2 separate regions of the Homo sapiens genome follow, and region 1 is linked to region 2. Evidence: promoter capture Hi-C in human tissues and cell types (Jung and others, 2019). All regions are on one chromosome and are shown on one strand. The core of a region is centred on a gene start or on the middle of the fragment in contact, and the rest is flanking DNA. Distances in the headings are between cores, read along the strand shown.

Evidence for each region. Contacts are between HindIII fragments. The study calls those that stand out against the background at their distance.
Region 1: a contact is called between a fragment that was not itself captured here and the fragment with the promoter of RPS20 in region 2, in 2 of the 25 tissues and cell types used here (neural progenitor cells and spleen).

The regions. Positions count from the first base shown.
Region 1 is chr8:54,633,663-54,636,362 of GRCh38, reverse strand. It overlaps a transcript of RP1 not described here. Among named protein-coding and RNA genes, the nearest start is that of RP1, 19 kb to the right of the region's middle. The HindIII fragment of the contact is 4,275 bases long and covers 1-2,700 here.
Region 2 is chr8:56,073,185-56,075,884 of GRCh38, reverse strand. RPS20 (ribosomal protein S20) reads left to right here and starts at 1,379. Exons shown (of 4, transcript NM_001023.4): 1 at 1,379-1,504; 2 at 1,726-1,825; 3 at 2,117-2,190; 4 at 2,613-2,700. The coding sequence starts at 1,502. SNORD54 (small nucleolar RNA, C/D box 54) reads left to right here and starts at 1,984; the gene lies at 1,984-2,046. It overlaps CERNA3 (competing endogenous lncRNA 3 for miR-645), which reads right to left and starts at 1,293. Exons shown (of 2, transcript NR_149110.1): 1 at 1,005-1,293; 2 at 611-878. The HindIII fragment of the contact is 21,018 bases long and covers 1-2,700 here.

The sequences.
Region 1 (2,700 bases), core at 155-2,654, 1.4 Mb after region 2:
ATTCAAAGGATTTTGTTGTGGATGTTGACAGTGCGCCTTCCATGGGATGCCTCTTTATCCTGAAGGATGCCTATTGCCTAAGTGTCTGACCCATGACTAGGTGTCCCTCTCACAACAAACTGTTTTTTCAGGCAGACACCCTTGTGGGTCTTGCCTGACCTGTATCCAGATTATTCCTGTCAAGACAGCCACTCTCTAAGATAGCTCTGACCAAAAAGAAGGCTACGTTAAGAGCATCTATGCCAAATGAGACACAATGAAGTGAAATGGAAATGCGCAAAACATAAGTGTTTATTATTCACAGTTCCCAGAAAGGTTAGGGGTGCCAACAGAAAGAGGCAGCAGGGAGCTCAATCAGCAAGGGGTCAGTGGGGAGGAGAGGAAGAGGGAGAAAGGGAAGGAGGGAGGTTGTGAGACAGAACTTTTGGGAGAGAGGGACGGGGAAATCTCTGGGACTGTGTATGCCTTTATTAAGCTCTGTGGACATTATCCCTTAGGCTTTCTTGTGGGGGTTGTAGATGGGCTAATTTAAAGAAATAAGTTCCCCTCTTCCCTCCTGAAGGGGTGAACCTATTTATGTGACTCTGGTGTTGACCGTTACATTTTATCACGTTCAATAGCTGTGGGGTGTGTTGGGTTTTGGGTCAAAGAAGTGAGGAACAAATAAGCCATACGGCAAACAACTACACGGGAAAGTAAGCTTTTAACTAAGCCAAAGGTGACAAAGTAGGACTAAATTTCAAATATTATGTCAATCCTAAAAATGGATGCTGAGGCAGCAACTACATTAAATAAACTTATAAATATATATATGAATATTCATATATATGAACATAAATATAGTGTTTAGCTTTGTATCACCCATTTCTCACTAACCACTTTCACTCTCAATATAATGAATTCCTGTGATGTACAAGTCATGTTTTCCCATGAACCTACCATCCTATCTTAATTTACTTGGTTGTATTGATTCACCTGAGCTTTAAGCAGTCTTACGTAAGTAGTAGTCTGTAGACTGCAGCCATTTATCAACATTAGTGTTACAGAAGAAAAGAACTATTCTCAAGATGAAAAGCAGCTAAATGATTTCTACTCCATTGACCTTTGTTTTTTGTTCTTGCTGTTACTGATTGTTATGATAATCTGTGTATGAATCAAAAAGTAAACATTAATATATGAAATATCTATGCATAGAGAAAAGGCTCATGTGTATATCCTTTAGAAAGAATTCCCATTGATAAAAAAATAATCATTGTATATTACATCTTTTTTTTTTTTTTTGAGATGGAGTCTCGCTCTGTTGCCCAGGCTGGAGTGCAGTGGCACCATCTCGGCTCACTGCAAGCTCCGCCTCCTGGGTTCATGCCATTCTCCTGCCTCAGCCTCCCGAGTAGCTGGGACTACAGGTGCCCACCACCAAACCTGGCTAATTTTTTTGTATTTTTAGTAGAGATGGAGTTTCAACGTGTTCGCCAGGATGGTCTCGATCTCTTGACCTCGTGATCCGCCCACCTTGGCCTCCCAAAGTGCTGGGATTACAGGTGTGAGCCACTGCGCCCAGCCCATTGTATATTACATCTAAAGTCCATGATGGGAATTGTTTACTAATTTTTGTCTAGAACAAGATGAACGTATCTTCTCTAAACCATCAAACATAGTACTTGTCTCTGTTTGAAGGTTTGCTGTTTTGTTGCTTAATTTTCAAAAGCTTTTTGGTCATACATTCTTTGCCATGACTTGGGAATAGTCCCTTAATAACTTAGCACTTAAGTTACTGGAAGATAAACCCTTTTAGGAAAAAAACTGTGAAATACCTTGAAATGGACAAAAAAGAAATTACTAAGTGCCTTATCAAGCCCTCTTGGGGTTATCTCTGTTTTTTCATTATCTTTAAATTATCTGATAATCCTGCAAATTGTAAAAACACAGATAATGCAAACTATTCTTGTCCATAGAAATATAAATTGGTGGTGTCCAGGGAATGTAATTTTTGTCCTGGACAGACCCAAATTCATTTCAGCATTTCTTATTGCTTATTTTTAGTGATACTTTAAATTCTTCCTTCAGCCCATTGTATATGTTAATAATTCCCTATGTAATTTGTAAGTTAAATACAATCTTTGGCACATGGTCATGTTATATCTATATGGAATTCATGATTTTGCTTTTAAAAACAATTATCCTTTAATACCTTAATGGACAAGAGCGTAGAATAGTAGGAAAAATGGTAAGTACTTTGGATTAAAAGAACCCTGGGCAGTAATGGAATCCTTCTTAACCTCAATAAACAGGGAATAGAAAGTCATTTTGTTTTCAGGGTAGATCTGTACATAGAGTATCAAACCACAAAACTCAGGACTTTTTATGAGAATCGAATACAGATATTAAAGTAAAAGTGCTTCTTTACTAGCCTCTGTGAGTTTTAGTCCCCTTCCTGCTACATTAAAGGTACTGTTACCCATCGAGAGGGTTCTCGTGAGGACTAAGATAATACACATAAAGAACTTAGCCCAATATTTGGCACAGAGCAGGGGCTCAAACTGTTTGTCACCTTCACTTTTGTGAAGGGCTATATGACTAAATGTTGAAAATATTACATTTCATATATATATATATATATATATAGAGAGAGAGAGAGAGAGAGAGAGAGAGGCACAAAATAAAGCTAAAATACATCTTGGTCAGAAGAACACCAACTTT
Region 2 (2,700 bases), core at 130-2,629:
CTACCAAGGAACAGAAGACAAAACCTCAAGAAAGAGTCCTGACGGGGCGAGCGCGGTGGCTCACGCCTGTAATCCCAGCACTTTGGGAGGCCGAGGCGGGCCTGAGATCTGGAGTTTGAGACCAGCATGATCAACATGGAGAAACCCCGTCTCTACTAAAAAAAAAAAAAAAAAAAAAAAAATTAGCCGGGCATGGTGGCGCATGCCTGTAATCCCAGCTACTCCGGAGGCTGAGGCAGGAGAATCGCTTGAACCCAGGAGGCGGAGTTTGCGGTGAGCCGAGATCGCGCCATGGCACTCCAGCCTGGGCAACAAGAATGAAACTCCGTCTCACAAAAAAAAAAAAACAAAACAAACAAAAAAAAAAAACAACAAACAGGCCTGGACGGAGGGGTCAGAGCTCTGTCCCTCCCCATTTCAGAGTGTTTGAGCAAATAACTCTTTCGGCTCAGAGCTTCAGGTGGAAAGTAATATGAGATGATTTTACTCTTCTTTCTGCCCTGTATCAAAATCCATCTCAGTGATTTCCACGTATTTAGCCCCGGCTTCTTGCTCAGGTGTAGGTGAGCTCACCCTGCGCTCTCTCCCACTGCTCAGCTCAGTTGACCATTCGGGTTTTCCACTATACTTGGTCACTTATGTGATTATGAACAGATGTTCAGTATTAAGAAGACCCTGGGGGATCTTATCCAATGACTTTATCCAACAGAAAGGAGATGAGGTATCAGGACTGGGTGGCTAGCCAGGTTCCAGGCCGGGCCTCAGGATAGCTGCGCAGCCTGGCATTTTCGCCTCACTTTCCAGAAGGACGAGAAGCCAAGTTCAGGTCCTTTCCAGAAATAGATGTAGATACTTCTGCTGGACTGGGAAGCCAGGAGCTGAAATATCACAACAGGACGTTTCAGGCTATGAAAAATAACTGCTTACTAATTCTAACGTAAGTTATCCAGATTACGAGAAGCATTTCTGCCAATGCTCATGTCAGCTAAGCTCAGAGAAGTTACCTCATCCTCAGAGAGCAACGAATGGTATGGTCTATGTAGAAAGCAAAATTTGCAACGGAAAAACCAGAGTTCGTGTGCACTTTATGAGGAAGAGGGTTAGGTGCACCAGACAGAGGAGTTTCTCAGGTTTCCGTGTCGCCTGTTCTCTCGACCAGGTGGCCCTCTCGGCGCAGGCGGGGACCCCACCCTGCGGGACTTCGGCTCCTCCGTGCGGACAGGGGGCGCCCGCAGCCGTGCCTTTCCCGCCAACTCCACTAGTGCTCCAGCTCGCCCTTGTGCGACCGCCTCTAGGGCCCGGGATATTTCCTGTTCCGGGGCGTGTGGGACCCGGATGCAAGCGTGCTATATAAGCGTTGCTCAAGTCCCACCCCTTTCTTTTTGAGGAAGACGCGGTCGTAAGGGCTGAGGATTTTTGGTCCGCACGCTCCTGCTCCTGACTCACCGCTGTTCGCTCTCGCCGAGGAACAAGTCGGTCAGGAAGCCCGCGCGCAACAGCCATGGTGAGGCGGCAGTCGGCGGCGGGCGGCGCAACGCAGGGCTCGGGCGCCGGGGGGACCCCGGTTTCGAGTTCGTGCTCCTGAGGGCAGATGCCGGGGCGTGTAGGGGCGGAAAGGCGCTCCTGAAATGGTGGGGAAACGCGGGAAGCTTCCGGAAGCTGCCTTTCTCCAGAAGTGGCAGACCATTTTTGGCTTATTGTTCTTTTTCATGTATCTAATAATAGGCTTTTAAGGATACCGGAAAAACACCCGTGGAGCCGGAGGTGGCAATTCACCGAATTCGAATCACCCTAACAAGCCGCAACGTAAAATCCTTGGAAAAGGGTCAGTGCATTCGTTATGCGGGGGGGAGGGGGAATTGGGCGAAAAGCGACGAGCTTTACTCGTTAATGTTAGTGTAGAAGGTGGACTGCAAGAACTAAAGTGACAAGTTACTTAAAAAAGTAAAGCGTGGCTTAAAATTGCTTTTACTGTCATACAGCTGGCGATGAGGAGGTACCTATTGTGTTGAGTAACGGTGATAATTTTATACGCTATTCTGAGCCAGCAGAAGTGAAGGCCTTAAGCCGATTTTAATTGTTTCGATTATACTGAGAGGTCTTTTATTTCCTGTAGTGTGTGCTGACTTGATAAGAGGCGCAAAAGAAAAGAATCTCAAAGTGAAAGGACCAGTTCGAATGCCTACCAAGGTAAAGTAAATCGGAGGGGCAGGAAGTAGGAGTTGCTTCCGGATGTTGCATAAATTCAGGTTCTTTAAGGAGTTCGGCTGCCAAAATTGTTAACACTGATGCTGTCTACAAACGCACATAGAAATCGGTGGTAGATTGCGGTTCCTAGTAAGTAGCTAATGTTTAGATATGATTGTTGAATTATTGTTGCTGTGTTCTTGGTGTGCTTTGGTGCTTAACAGGCGCAAGCTCTAAGGGTGGTGTCCTAGCACAGTGAAAACAGACCTGGCATTTTCAACCCATGGTACCTGAAAATCTATTAGTGTAAATTGGAATCATACCAAAGGGAAACTAATGAAATGATTAGAAGTAATGATTTTCCAGATGTTCTAGGGATAAGTATAAAACGATAAACACTTGGTTTCCTTTGTCTTTTGTTACAGACTTTGAGAATCACTACAAGAAAAACTCCTTGTGGTGAAGGTTCTAAGACGTGGGATCGTTTCCAGATGAGAATTCACAAGCGACTCA